Linked DNA regions of Homo sapiens: all the other regions are linked to region 1. The links are contacts of gene promoters, found by promoter capture Hi-C in blood cells and fetal thymus (Javierre and others, 2016). All regions are on one chromosome and are shown on one strand. The core of a region is centred on a gene start or on the middle of the fragment in contact, and the rest is flanking DNA. Distances in the headings are between cores, read along the strand shown. Region 1 holds the start of SGK1 (serum/glucocorticoid regulated kinase 1). Region 2 holds the start of ALDH8A1 (aldehyde dehydrogenase 8 family member A1). Region 3 overlaps LOC101928277 (a long non-coding RNA gene).

What was found. The method cuts DNA at HindIII sites, captures the fragments that hold promoters and counts their contacts. A CHiCAGO score of 5 or more calls a contact.
Region 2: the fragment with the promoter of ALDH8A1 here is called in contact with the fragment with the promoter of SGK1 in region 1 in 10 of 17 cell types (naive CD4 T cells, naive CD8 T cells, fetal thymus and 7 more); the score reaches 11.2 in naive CD4 T cells.
Region 3: a fragment that was not itself captured here is called in contact with the fragment with the promoter of SGK1 in region 1 in 1 of 17 cell types (monocytes); the score reaches 5.7 in monocytes.

Annotation. Positions count from the first base shown.
Region 1 is chr6:134,314,926-134,320,009 of GRCh38, reverse strand. It overlaps SGK1 (serum/glucocorticoid regulated kinase 1), which reads left to right and starts at 1,898. Exons shown (of 14, transcript NM_001143676.3): 1 at 1,898-2,618. The coding sequence starts at 2,550. RefSeq lists an enhancer at 2,071-2,350. The HindIII fragment of the contact is 10,717 bases long and covers 1-5,084 here.
Region 2 is chr6:134,948,034-134,953,117 of GRCh38, reverse strand. ALDH8A1 (aldehyde dehydrogenase 8 family member A1) reads left to right here and starts at 3,017. Exons shown (of 7, transcript NM_022568.4): 1 at 3,017-3,202. The coding sequence starts at 3,065. The HindIII fragment of the contact is 9,755 bases long and covers 1-4,929 here.
Region 3 is chr6:134,838,324-134,843,407 of GRCh38, reverse strand. The region is part of intron 2 of LOC101928277 (a long non-coding RNA gene); the gene reads left to right. Among named protein-coding and RNA genes, the nearest start is that of ALDH8A1, 110 kb to the left of the region's middle. The HindIII fragment of the contact is 406 bases long and covers 2,622-3,027 here.

The DNA of each region.
Region 1 (5,084 bases), core at 649-3,148:
GGAAAGAGGTTTAATTGACTCACAGTTCAGCATGGCTGGGGAGGCCTCAGGAAACTTACAATCAGAGCAGAAGGGGAAGCAAACACATTCTTCTTCACATGGCATCAGGAAGGGGAAGTGCTGAGCAAAAGGGAGAAAAGCCCCTTATAAAACCATCAGATCTCATGAGAAATCACTCACTGTGGGAACTACAATTCAAGACGAGATTTGGGTGGGGACACAGCCAAATGATATCAACCAGTATGCATGCTAGGCCAATGTGGGATTAAGCAAAGCCCCAGCACCTCCTTCCTAGCAGAGTGCTTAAAGGTCCCCTCCTGTATATTACTCAAATTCAATAAATGTCTGTTAAAACACTTTTGGGGGAGTGGCAATGGGACGAAAAAGAAAGAACTTGAATGACCATCATTTTTTAAAATGAGGTCCATTGAGGTATAATTTACATGCAGCAAAAGTTTCCCTTTTCCTATATAAAATTTGATGAGTTCTGACAAATGCATAGTTATGTAACCACCACCATCATCATGATAGAGAACACTTCCATCGTCTCAAAATAATTCCCTTTGAACTACCATAATTTTAAATGAACTCTTTAGAAGAACCACAAAAACTTATCAATGTTGTAGATTACATAACATATACTTGCATCTTGGACAACTTAACATATCTCTCCAAAATGAATAGTTGTTTTCCCTTGGTTATCATGCCATCATTTAGTTGTATTGCATTTTCTTTTTGGAAACCTCAAGGCATTTAGCAAACAGGATTTCATGTTTATTCCCAAAAACTCTGGCCCAACTGTAGAGATTTATAGTCCAATTCAATGAAACCCATGCATTTCTTTCCCAGTTTAACCTGATGTTTCTCTTCTTACCAGAGACTTCCATGTAAATACTTTAACAATGTTAGGTGTGTTATATATAATGAGGTCATAATCAGTTTCAAATTAGCATTGCGCCTTTCACTTATTTATCAATTATATTCCCTTGTGATGATTATGAAAAGGCTCCACATCCTGAGGACACTTGTCAGAGTTAGATTTATTAATGGAATGAAATAGCAAATAATGAATGACTAAATAAATGAATGAGTGAATGAATGAATGAGTGGCTGCCTCCATTTTATGGATGAGGCAGTGTCCGAAAGGCACAGTGAGGTCAGGTGATGGCAGAAAGCCACACACCGATGTTGGTGGCTTTCTGCCAGGTCAGATGCCAAGTTTATTTTCTTTGCTTTCTTGCTTTACTATCAACTAATCTTTAAAATCATTCCCATAAAATATCAACATTAAAGAATAAAAATGGAAAAATAAGCCACATACAATTAAATGGCTTTTTTAAAAGGAGCTCAGTGTGCAAAGGATAACATGAGTAAGGATTTTTTGGGAAATTTTTCACCTAATAGGAAGAATGCTTTACTCTTTTATTTATCAAACCTTCCTCATCATTAAATGGATTCAGTAGTACTTTTTGGTAATAACTCGTGTGTGTGTGTATGTGTGTAATAAAGTACTTTGTATATGTTCATTGTGTTCTTTTTTTAATAAGCTGTTTTAATGAAAAAGACACAATTACCGTCACCATTGCCCACTATATAATGACAAGTAGGGGAGGGGAGGCTAAAAGAGCTTCTACATAGTGAGAGATCTTCCATTGTTATACCTACGCTTGCACTTTATTTCATTTTCTTCCACGTTTGGACAGGTCGAGATTAAATGTGATTACATTTCCGTTGAGAGGCTTTTATTCAGCAACAGGATTCAAAAGAATGTCAATGAGCATAAAATAAAAACGGTGTGCAATTTATATGAAACTCTGATTTAAATGGTCCTAACCAAAAAAAAAAAAAAAGAAAGAAAGAAAAGAAGCTATTTAAAGTAACCCTCCCAAGGGGAGTCAACTGCTCTTCAGTGTGCCCTGAGCCGGCTGTGCCTTCTCTCCATCCGCTGCTCAGATATTCATGAACCGTTGCTTCTTCCAGCCTCGCCTTCTCGCTCCCTCTGCCTTTCTGGCGCTGTTCTCCCTCCCTCCCTCTGGCTTCTGCTCTTTCTTACTCCTTCTCTCAGCTGCTTAACTACAGCTCCCACTGGAACTTGCACAATCAAAAACAACTCTCCTCTCTCAAGCCGCCTCCAGGAGCGCATCACCTGGAGAAGAGCGACTCGCTCCCCGCGCCGGCCGCGGAAGAGCAGCCAGGTAGCTGGGGGCGGGGAGGCGTACCCTTCTCCCGCTCGGTAAGAGCCACAGCATCTCCCCGGAGATTGGCCGTATCCCACCGTCCGGCCCCCAGGGTCCTGCAGCGGTGATGCATATGTTTCGGAGCAATGATGGAAGGAGAAAAGCCGCTGTCGGTGGCAACTGAAAGTGGGGAGAGGTTGCTGCAGTAGCTGGTGCTGCAGAATGCGCGAGTGAAGAACTGAGCCCCGCTAGATTCTCCATCCCGCTCAGTCTTCATTAACTGTCTGCAGGAGGTAAACCGGGGAAACAGATATGCACTAACCAGGCGGGTGCCAACCTGGATCTATAACTGTGAATTCCCCACGGTGGAAAATGGTAAACAAAGACATGAATGGATTCCCAGTCAAGAAATGCTCAGCCTTCCAATTTTTTAAGAAGCGGGTAAGGACAGGTTTTGCTTATTTCTTTTGTTTTCTGTGCTTCTCTTAAATGCTTTTGAATGTTTGCCTGAAGTAAGCCTGAGGTTTTGTTGCTAAACCCTTAATGTAAGCCGTGCTTCTGATGGCAGTGGTAAAGCTGAGAACTATACCTGACTTGATTAGAATTTGTTGGAGGAGGGGCAGGGGGCTATGAAGAGTTGCATTGGGAGGAGGGGGTTGGGCTGAGATGCCTTAAACGGGTTTGAGCTGGGAATGGGGATTTTTCTCTCTCAAGCCACAACAAAGATTACAAGGCAGTCGCAAAGAGAACTGGCTTGAGTACAATTATGGCTAGTAATTTAGTCAGGGGCTAATTTAGCAGCTTCCTCTCATCTTTGAAGGGTTCAACTTTTCTACACCTTTCATCCACTCAGTCTCAAGTGATGCATTATCATCTTCGTTCGTCAGAAGCAGCAGCTTCTGGTTTCCCAAATCCATTCAGCCAATAATTTGCTGTGTCTCTATCTGTGGTATAAATAGCAAAGGAGTAGAATGACCTTTTACAGAAATGATGGAATCCAGCATTTAAAATTGTCTATTTTAAGTTGCCTCAATTTTTGCTTTTGCTTAGAATAACTGCCTTTTTTTTTTTTTTTTTTTTTTTTTTTTTGGGAGAGAGCAGTGGGAGGTCTGTATTTGAGTGATAATTCAGGGTTATGTTGCTGTATGCATTTATTTCTTAAACTCCTTATTCTTCAACTCAAAGTATGAATAATGTTGCATTGGTTGTAGGTGAGAAAAAAGGATTTTTTTGCATGTATATTTCACAATAAACTCAGTTCACTGGGATGGCCACACTGGTGGTCTGTGTAAATCTGCAAATTTATACACAAGCGGGAGGTAAGAAATGAATGATTGTTAAAGGAATGACACTGACACTCTTAAGGACAGTGTTTCCTAAGCAACGTAAGAGAAGGAACATCCTCCAGTCCCCAGTTGCCCCATCCTATTTAATACCCTAGGGCAATTCCACCAAAATGGTTCTCTCCATTCATTCCTCCTTCCTTTCATTCAGGTCCTTTCTGTGCCACTCCTGAAACACAGCCCTTCAGTTAACTCATCCGCAGAACACAGTGAATTTCAGGGTGGGCTGGACTATCTCCCTGCACCAAATGGGCAAGCTGGGAAGGCAAGGCTAGAAATGCAGGCAACATGTCAGGCCCAGCTAGAGGGCCAGCGAAGGCTCCCAAGCACCCTTGACTGAGTTCTCATCAGTAAAGCAAAATCTTTCTCCAAGTCTGTGGGCCAAAGCATATGCATTCAAACCAAAATGAAACCAACCTGTCCTGGCCCCTGCTCTTGGAGTGGGAGTACCATGTGAAATCTCACTAGTGAGCTGCAAGCTAAGTGAAAGCAAGTCAGTGCAACTTCACAGAGCTCCACAAGGCTTCTTAGTTTTTCTCTGTAGCTAAAATATTTCTTTCCAAGGGAAGAGCCCTTTATGAAAATTAATTTTCTTTCTTTCTTTTTCTTTTTTTTAGAGACGGGGTCTTGCTATATTGCCCAGGGTGGTCTTGACCTTTTGGGCTCAAGTGGTCCTCCTGCCTCAGCCTCCCAAATTGCTGGGATTACAGATGTCCACCACCAGGCCCAGCCCTAATTTTCAATAATAAACAAATGTTTTGCTAATTTTAAAAATGCCATAGCCCATTATCCAGTATTTAAACTCTATTGCCTTTTAATTACTGTATTTATTTCATGGTATTGGGGATATTCTAAAACTCCTCAGTCAGATGTTCTTAAGCAATGTAGATTTAAGTTACATAAATTTTAAATTGTCTTTTATTTTCTTTGTTATCAAAATGTACTAATAGAAATACTAATTTGCCATTTGGTTTTGTTTTGCTTAAAAGCAAGTTTACCAATAGACTTCAGTTGGTGACTCTGCAGACCTTGAATTTTGCAGAGAACCACCCAGGGTACTGATGTCTTATCTGAGTACATGCAGAAAGAAGTTTCTACCAAGATAACTGGCAGGCAGCTTCATCTAACTTCTAACCTGGGTCTATCAGTTGCTGGAGACAGGATCAGACATCTCTCCTGCCCCTGCGCTCTCCTTACTCCTCAAGGACAGTTAACTAAGTAGAAGGTGACCTTGTATCAAGTCATTGAATGCCCCAGGGATAAATTCTTTGATTTTTGTCTACTTTGGTTTATTCCACAAATTCTGTATTCTAAATGTTTATTTCTGCTTGTACATGACTTTGCTTTTTTTGTTTGTTTGTTTTTAGTTAAACAATATGTAAATACATCTATAAAACATTAAAACAATAATAAGGTATATCCCACCTCCTCTCCAATCTTTCTCCCTTTCCCAGATGTAGTAACTGTTACCATACTGATGTTTATACTTTCCAAACTTTTACTTCACATACACATTCATATACTACAATGCCTTTGTTTGCAGTTCAGAATAATTCATTTTCTT
Region 2 (5,084 bases), core at 1,768-4,267, 630 kb before region 1:
GGTCTTGAGTCCCCTGTCCTCACTGTGCAGGACCTGGCAGTGAATCCACCCCTTGGGATGTGGTGGGGGGTGGATTCTGTGACCGCAAATGGGAGTACGTTTCACCCATGGGTCAGAATGCTGTTACAGGGATGTGGTAAGAACAGATCTGCATTCAGCAGGACACACTGGCGAGCAGATGGAGCCAGCCAGAATAATTCAGGAGCAGGTGATACCCACATGTCCAGTGAAGCAGGTAGAACTACCTAGAAGTAGGTTCTCAGCCACTAGGCCCAGATATAGGATTTCATGTCTCTTCAAGGGAAACCGACAGGAGAAACGTTGGTGCCAACTTAGAGAAAAGGCCTTGAAGGCATGTCAGAGCTCAGGTATCAGGACTGGGGTCAACTGACATGACCAGACTCTGAATGAGGCCCATGCTCTGTCCTCCAGGATGAAAGTCTCCCAGCTCAGCTGAGCTCTGATTCCAGAGTCATCTCTGTGGTTGACCTGCAGGTGGGGATCAAATGGTTGCACTGTGGACAGAAAAGGGCTGACAGGGGGAAGTGGGGGAAGGCCAAGTACATTATGAAAAACCAGCGAGGCCAGGCACAGTGGCTCACGCCTGTAATCCCAGCACTTTGGGAGGCTGAGGAGGGCGGATCACTTGAGGTCAGGAGTTTGAGAACAGCCTGACCAACATGGTGAAACCCCGTCTCTACTAAAAATACAAAATTAGCCAGGCGTGGTGGCACATACCTGTAATCCCAGCTACTTGGGAGGCTGAGGCAGGAGAATTGCTTGAACCCAGGAAGCAGAGGTTGCTGTGAGCTGAGATCATGCCATTGCACTCCAGCCCGGGCAACAAGAGTGAAACTCTGTCTCAAAAAAAAAAAAAGAAAAAGAAAAACCAGCGAAGGCCCAGCTTGAGCAGCCAATGGCACAAGAAAATGGCACAAGGAGGCCACTGTAACTGACAGACACGCCTGCTCTGCCACTGGGACTGATCTTGTGTGGGGAGTTCTGATCAGCACCAGGCACTCTTTAGAAGCACCGTGTCCGGCTTCTGTCCTCTTCTACTGTCACGTGGCAGAAAATTCCTCTCTCATGCTATCCTGGGTAAAGTCCTTTCTTCAAAAAGATCTCCCTTCCATAGTCCTCCCATTAGAATCTTTTGCACTCTGTACAAAAAGACAAACATTCTGATGAGTCCATCAACATTAGGCAGAGTTGTTGGAGACCCAGGAAGATGGGCTACAGAAGTCTTTATGCACACACCGGGTGGTACTCACTGTCTCTCAGCACCAAGCTCACTTCTTGGTACTTCACTCTGTGGTGCCAGGGCTGGGACCTGCGTATTTCTCTCATTCTGTTTCCAGCTGACCTGACCGTGGGCAGCACCAGAAAAAGCCTGAGACTACCTTCTGTCTCCAGTCCCTGTCAGCGACTCTCCAGCGACAGGCAACGGCGCCAGCTCCAGACTCCAGCTGCTCTGGGCCTCCCAGAATCAGCCACACCATGCTTGTCAGAAGTCTCAGCAAGAATTTTGGAGAATATCTAGAGACCAATAAAGATGGAAGCAGAGAGGGCCTAAGGAGGTGCACGGCCAGCAAGTGCCCTCATGTGATCAATGAATTTTAGAATATTGGTACCTAACCTTCAACTGAATTATAACTATAAATCATAATTATAAAAGTAATATAGGCTTGCCATAAAATATCCAAGCAGTTTAAAACGGCTTCCTGTCAACCATGTAAATAGCCAAAGAAACTATGCTGTATATATTATTCACTAGTTTTATTTTTTCACTTAACAATGCATCCTTCTAATGTCTAAGTAGTATTCCCTGTTAAGAATATAACAATTATACTCTAATATTCTCCAATTGATGGACTTTAGGTTGTTTTGATTTTTAAATTATGATAAAAAAGGATGTCCTGTGACTTATGTACTTGTTCATGAGCACGTAATTCTGTAGGAGAGATTCCTAGAAGAGAAATTGACCAGACCCTGACAAATTGCCCCAAGCAGTGTTCTGTGAACCCTCCCGCCTATGGACTAGGGATGATTCTCCACATCCTCACAGAGTAGATGTTCTCAATCTTTAAAAATGCTCTCCAGTATGATTGGCAAATCAGGCCACCTCTGTATTTCACATTCCTTGCTTAACAACAAGGCTGAACATTGTTAATATATTCATTAGCCAATTGTGTTCCTTTTCCTATGGATTGCTTTTTTGTATCTTTGCTTATCTTTTCTGTTGGGGTGCTCATTTCTCTTACCAATTTGTAGAAATTCTCAGCTACATCAGGGATCTGAAGCCCTTGCTATATGTGTCACACATGTTTTTGGCTTGTCTTTATCTCCATGGCACATCTAGGAAGATGTGAGCAGCCACTGTGGCCCCGGTTTTGGGATGGAGAGACAGCTCTTCCAAGAGAGGGCAGCCAAGGTAAAGAAACACAGATGAGCCACGGAAAGAGGGCATCTGTCTTCAGTTACCTCTGCAGGGTAAGCAGTGATGCATTGAGGAAAAAGTATATGATTTGGAGATTAAAGGGCTACAGTTCATCCCCTGCTAACTATGTGACCTTGGAAAAATGGTCTAACCTCTCCAAGGCTCAGTTTCTTCTATAAAAGAGAGGAAGTAATGGTTACTTCATATAGGATTGTTGTGTGGAATAAACGAGTAAATTCATGTAAAGGACTTGCTTTGGGGCCTGGCATCCAATCAGTGTTTGAGCAATGAACAGTTTACGGTGTGAACCCAATAAAATCACATGCACAGATGCCTTCTGATGATTTAAAGGGCTATGAACACATAAGTAAGTAGCTGTTACTTTTACACACAATTATCCATGTCAGGTAATGTACTAGAAGTCTGTGAAACATTCAGCCACTCTCTTAGTTCTGAGTTTGGAGACTGGAATGCTCTCTGAGAGCGTCAGGTGCCCTCCCACATTCACTGATTGGTAAAGGGGAAGATGGGGGCTGGGAAGGGGGAGGCTCACTCAGGAGTCCAGACAGTGGTGGGGACAACCTGAGTGCTCAGTCGTAAAGAGGAAAGGCAGAATTTTTCCTTGCTATGGCTGGAACAAACGCACTTTTGATGCTGGAAAACTTCATAGATGGAAAATTTTTACCTTGTAGCTCATATATAGATTCTTACGACCCATCAACAGGGGAAGTGTATTGCAGAGTGCCAAATAGTGGAAAAGACGAGGTGAGTATATGCACTTAAAGAAGACTGAAATGTGTTTAATATGTTGGCCAATTATGGGTAACAGTTTTCTAAAAGCAGAGGGAGTTGGGGGAAGATGTAGGATTGTTAAACATGATAGAAGGAAGATTCTAGTTCTCAGAAGATGTACCTTGTAACTGGACTGTATGATACCTAGAACAAATCTCTTCCTATATGCAGAAAGTAAGTCATTTTTCTAGCCAACCTAACACAGCCCTGTGTGCAGTTTTTTTTTGCAATTCTCAAACATTTCCTAATCAGTGTCTAGTACAAAGTATTATTTGTAAGAGCTATCACTTTGTTAAATATTCCCTTTTCTCCACCACGCACTGCTTAAATTTACCACTATATCCATGGAATTAAAAAAAAAGTATAGCTTTACTAAAATAAACAAACAAGCAAAAAACTGTGGGCTTTGTTTTAGATTGTCTTCTCATAATTTGTCATGTCTTCAAAATACCTAGTAAAATAAAATCAATCATTTGAATGATGAAACTCAAAATCAAATTCCCATATATTTTTGGAGTTAGATTTAACAGCGTCTTTTTTCTTATCCAAAGTGTTTAATGGCATATGCATTACATTTTTTTGGTGATGTAGAATTAATTTTACTTGGAGAATTTTGTAAAATATTTGAGATATATTTGATTAGCTATCAATTATTGCACTGAGAATGTAAATATATCTGAAGTGGTAAATGTAGCTGATGTATATATAGTCATCTAATGCCTTATGAATTATAATTTATTCTTTTTAAGGCACAAATAACTAGATTATTTAAAATATAGTCTTCCTATAAAAATATATATTCCATGCAAAGTTTTTTTTTAAGAACATTGCTATTTTTTTTCTTTTTTGTTAATACTTCAAATCTGTCTTGCATTTAAAGTAAACCTTCAGACTTAGGGATTAATGTTTGCAAATGTTGGTTAATGCATTGGTTAAATTATAAACTGCAATTTTGTTTGCTTCAAATGACTTAACACAGCTCTGGGAAATCCAGCTTTGTGTTTTCCACTCTTCCTTGTTTGCCAAAGTGAAGTTAAAAATGACAAACATGCCAAATTCAGCTGAAATATTTCCTGCAGCTAATGGCTCATAACTTTTTAGAAAATAGAATGAGCTATGGATGCGCTAGCTAGTAGAGTAATAGATATGTTCAGTTTCTCAGCAATCCAACTTCCAAATATCCTATCTGATCCCATAAGTCATAGTTTTTTCCGGCTTGAAAAATATGGTTACCATACAAACTGCATGTCCAATTTCCAAAACATCACTCAGGAAAATGTTGCTGGTGCTGCTAACAGTGGCTCCCGTTTATTCAACTTTTGCTTTGTGCTTTGCAGTCATTAAGCCCTTTTTTAACAAAAAATTAAAAAATTGATACATAATAATTGTACATCTTTATGGGCATATGTGACATTTTGATACATGCATACAATGTGTCATGATCAAATCAGGGTAATTAGGATCTCCATCACATTAAACATTTATCATTTCTTGGTGTTGGGAACATTCCAAATCTTTTCTTCTAACTATTGTGAAATATACAATAAATTATTGTTAACTATTGTCACTCTACTAGAACTTATTCCTTTTAACCATATTTTTGTATTAATTAGCCAACCTCTATCCTCTCCTCTACCCTTCCCAGCCTCTGGTAACCATAATTGTACTCTCTACCTCCATGAGATCAACTTTTTTAAGCTTCCACATATGAGTGAGAACATGTAATATTTGTATTTTTGTGCCTTGCTTACTTCACTTAACGTAATATCCTCCAGCTCAAATCGTGTTGGTGCAAATGACAGGATTTTGTTCCTTTTTATGGCTGAATAATATTCCATTGTGTATATATACCATA
Region 3 (5,084 bases), core at 1,575-4,074, 520 kb before region 1:
ACATGTTCACTATCTGAAGCTTATTGACCCCTGTCCTCTTGGGTTTTTATGGAAGCTTTGTGATGTCAGCATCCCTTCCTCCAGTGTATAGGGCAGGACCCTCTTTTGGGAGGGTCTTAGGACCTACAATCAGAAAGGTGGGGGAAGATTAGAGTCCTGCCTTGGGGCCAGTGGAAGGAAGACAGGAGAGAGATTCTATATCCTGAGGTCTGCCCGTGAGGCCCAACACACCCAACATGATAACAAAAGATGGTAACAAGGGCTTTGGGAGTTGTGAACCAGGAACCGTGGATGAAAAGCAATATATAACATAAACATCAAAGCTTAAAACTGGACCTTTATAAACAAAATTCTATTCTTTTTTTTGAGATCAAGTCTTGCTCTTGTTACCCAGGCTGGAGTGCAATGGAGCGATCTCAGTTCACTGCAACCTCCGCCTCCCAGGTTCAAGCGATTCTCCTGCCTCAGCCTTCCAAGTAGCTGGGATTATAGGCACCTGCCACCACACCGGGCTAATTTTTGTATTTTTAGTAGAGACGGGGTTTCACCATGTTGGCCAGGCTGGTCTTGAACTCCTGACCTCAGGTGATCCGCCTGCCTCAGCCTCCCAAAGTGCTGGGATTACAGGTGTGAGCCACCGTACCCAGCCACAAAATTGTATTATCTTTACAAGTTCTTCAAGTTTAGGATTTGTTTTCTTGCTTATAATGAGGGGTAGTATTAATAGACTACTCATTAGGGCTGTTATGAAGAATGAATTATGTGATGGCTGTAATGCAGGGAGTACATAGTTACTCAAAATGGTTGTCAATACACAGAGAAGTGGAGAGGTAAATTATGATAAAGATGGAAGTTCAGATTAGGGGCCCTGCCTGGATCTGCTGATCCAGAAGACTGGAGAGAGCATGAGGCCATGGGTTCGTGAGTGTTTGGGGGAGAGGCCTGGGGAGGAAGAGAGGAGGGAAAAGTAGAGCATCTGGCAAGGGAGAAACATGCCAGCACAATTATCACCGACTTTAAGCTTCACACTTATCACAGCACCTAGGTGATGTATGTGAACTAGGATTAATAGAACGATGATGATGTCAATATATCACAATTAGGACAGGAAAAAAAAATGTACTGCATATACAGAAAAGAACTGTAGCATGTAATCCAAATTTTATGTAAATTCACTGACTTATGCAACCTGCTTTGCCCAGCATCGAGCTTGCTAGGTACTGTTCTAAGCACCGGGGGGTACAGCAGTGAGAATAACAGCCTGTGGCCACGGAGCTCACATGCTTATGGGGGAGGCAGACAGAAACCAATAAATACAGAATCTATCAGGTAGCGATGAATGTTAAGAAGAAAAAAGAAGGTAAAGATACAGGAAGTGTTGAGGGATGGTGTTTTAGATAGGGTGACCAGAGAAGTCCTCTCTAATATGGTAAAACTTATTAAAAAACAAAAACTCTCTTCATTTGTTCAACTTATTGAACATACCCATTTGGAGTACCAACTGTGTGCTAGGTTCTGTGCGAAGAGATGGTAACACAGTCATGGAGAAGAGTCACAAATTCCTTCCCTTTCATGGAGCTTTCATTCTTATGGAGAGGAGGAGAAATAAATATATAAACAAATAAATAACTTCAAACGGTATAAATGTGTAAAGGCAGTAGATAACAATGGGGAATATGATAGAATTGTTCTTTGGAGGTGGGGGCAGGGATAGGGGAAATGGGTGAGCAGTTGTAAGGCAGAATTAACAACTCTAGGCTGGGTGCAGTGGCTCATGCCTTGAGCTCAGGAGTTTGAGACCAGCCTGAGCAGCATAGGGAGACCTTGTCTTTATTCAAAAAGTAAAAAGAAATATAAAAAAGAATTAACATCTCTAGAGGACTTTAACAAATGCATGATAAAAATTATAATTTAGACTGGGTGTGGTGGCTCATGCTTGTAATCCTAGTGTTTTGGGAGGCTGAGGTGGGCAGATAGTTTGAGCTTAGGAGTTCAAGACTGGTCTGGGGAACATGGTGAAACCCGTCTCTACAAGAAAATACAGAAATTAGCCAGGTGTGGTGGTGCATGCTTGTAGTCCCACCTACTCAGGAGGCTGAAGTGGAAAGATCACCTGAGCCCAGGAGGCAGAGGTTGCAGTGAGCCAAGATCATGCCACTGCACTCCAGCCTGGATGACAGAGCCAGACCCTGTCTCAAAAAAAATTATAACTTTATTTTAACATGTAATATGTATATTTGTAGTCCTAGAACATCTTTAATACATCAGAATATGTTAATAAGAATTTGGTCACAATTAATTTCTATGTATGAGAGTATGAAAAAAATTGCTGGGATATTGTATATATCCCCCCACATTTTTTTAAAACCATCTCCCTATTGATGGACCCGATTTTTCCTCTTTATGGTTCCCCATGACTTGAGTATTTTAAAGGAGTGGCTAACATTCTCCATACTCTTCACTTACTTGAACCATCTCAGCATATCCACCATGTGCTGACATCTCTAGCTAAATGAAGTATGCTTAATATTGTAGTTTAAGGCACTCTGGTTATTTCTAGAGTAATCTTGAGATCTTTACACAGCCCAGTATGGCTACCCTTACTCTCCCAAAGTGAAGCTTAATGTCAACTTTTTCAGATCTACTTTCTGCTACTGAGACAATGTTTAACAATTTGTAAATGATCCCAGACACAAAAAGCCTTATGATGTCTTTTTTCAGTGGTTCCAGCTGGAGAACTGCAGGATGGATTCCTTCCAGCCATTTTGAAATTGAGTCAAAGTCTCTTCTTTAGAGAGTTCATTCTTAAGATATTTTGTCCCCATGACTTAGTTACCTAAAAACGTAGTAATTTGCTCTCCTCAGATTTTAAACTGCTTTTCCAGGTAAACACTTCTATTTCTATAGCTTGAAGTGATGATAAATAATATGCTATTGCTTTCCTTTCTGTAAGTCCAGCCCGCACCACATTCACTTATCAATAATTTACTGGCAGCTCTGCCTAGATATGCCATAGGGTGAGAAGCTTACCATCTAAAATGAAACTCTTCTTTCCCCTCCAGTTGGTTCTACCTCCTGTGTTTCTTCTCTTGGTTAATGATTTCCCACTTCAGCCACTTCAGCCAGAAATCTAAAGGTCATTGTCTTTCTTTTACCCACCCCTCTCACCAACTGCTGGTGGGTGAGTCCTATTGTTTCTACTCCTTAACGTCTACAAGATCTGGCCTCTTGGCCGGGCGCAGTGGTTCACGCCTGTAATCCCAGCACTTTGGGAGCCCAAGGCAGGTGGATCACCTGAAGTTAGGAGTTCGAGACCAGCCTGACCAATATGGTAAAACCCCGTCTCTACTAAAAATACAAAAAAAATCAGCCAGGAGTGGTGGCGTGCACCTGTAGTCCCAGCAACTTGGGGGCTGAGATAGGAGAATCACTTGAACCCAGGAGGTGGAGGCTGCAGTGAGCAGAGATTGCACCACTGCAATCCAGCCTGGGTGACAGCAGGACTCTGTCTCAAAAAACAACAACAACAACAAAAATCTGTCCTCTCCTCACCATGCCCCAGCTGTTGTCTCAGTTCAGCCCTCATTTATTCTCTTGTGCTAGTTTTAAATTCATCCTTCACACAGTTAACTGAGAGATCTTAAGACGCAAATCTGATTATTTAGCACTGTGTTACTTAAAATTCCTCCTAGGTTTTCAGTCAGTGTTTACAGATTAAAATTCCTTGGCATGGTGCAGAAGACCCTTCTTCACTGGGGGTCAGGCCAACCTCATTTAGACTCATCTTGTTCTGTTCCTTGTTGCTGTAGTTCCAGCAACCATCCTCACGATCATTGTGCCACACATACTGTGCCAAGGGCCTCCCGGGTAGGATTTCACTTACTTTGCAATTAATGTTCACAACATTCTTATCAGGTAGGCGCTATTCTTACCTCCATTTTACAGTAGGTATAACATTCCCAAGGTTACACATGTGGAGAATTGAATTTTCAATACAGGTCTGCTTTCTGAAGTCTGGGCTTGTGACAATTTTGCCTTACATTATGTCCATTTCTCTTACCTGTGGCACACTTCTTTAGCCCCATGGCATTCGCACCTACCATCTCCCTTGGTCAACGTGCCTTCTGCCACACTCACCTTCAAGGACGCTCTTTAGACAGTACTTCCATAGGGCAGTGGGATACACCACACTCTCCTTCAACTTGCATTACGCCCCCTCCTCTCTTGTGGCTCTCATAGTTCTGTATGGCACTTATGTTTTGCATGTCTAGTATGGTTTGGCTGTGTCCTCACCTAAATCTCATCTTGAATTGTAATCCCCATAATCCCCACATGTTGTGGGAGGAGCCAGGTGGGATATAATTGAATCATGGGGACAGTTTCTCCCCATACCGTTCTTGTGATAGTAACTGAGTTCTCACAAGACCTGATGGTTTTGGAAGTGTCTGGCATTTCCTCTGCTTGCCCTCATTCTCTCTCCTGCCGCCCTGTGAAGAGGTGTCTTCTGCCATGATTGTAAGTTTCCTGAGGCCTCCCCAGGGATGTGGAACTGTGGGTCAGTTAAACCTCTCTTCTTTATAAATTACCCAGTCTCAGGTATTTCTTCATAGTAGCACGAGAACAGACTAATACAAGTTCGGACCCCCACCTCTGGGCTATGTATTCCTTGGGAGCAGAAAGAGTATTTTATTATTTGTAGAACTCTAGTGCCTAGTACAGTATCTGAAACATGGCAGGCTAAATGCCCATCAGTGATAGACTGGATAAAGAAAATGTGGTGTGTATATGTGTGTGTGTGTATATATATATCATGGAATACTAAGCAGCCATAAAAAAGAATGAGATCATGTCCTTTGCAGGGACATGGATGGAGCTGGAGGCCATTATCCTTAGCAAACTAACACAGGAACAGAAAACCAAACACCACATGTTCTCACTTATAAGTGGGAGCTAAATGATGAGAACACATGGACACATAGAGGGGAACAACACACACTGGGACTTATCAGAGGGTGGAGGGTGGGAGGAGAGGGAGGATCAGGAGAAATAACTAATGGGTACTAGGCTTAATACCTGGTACCCAT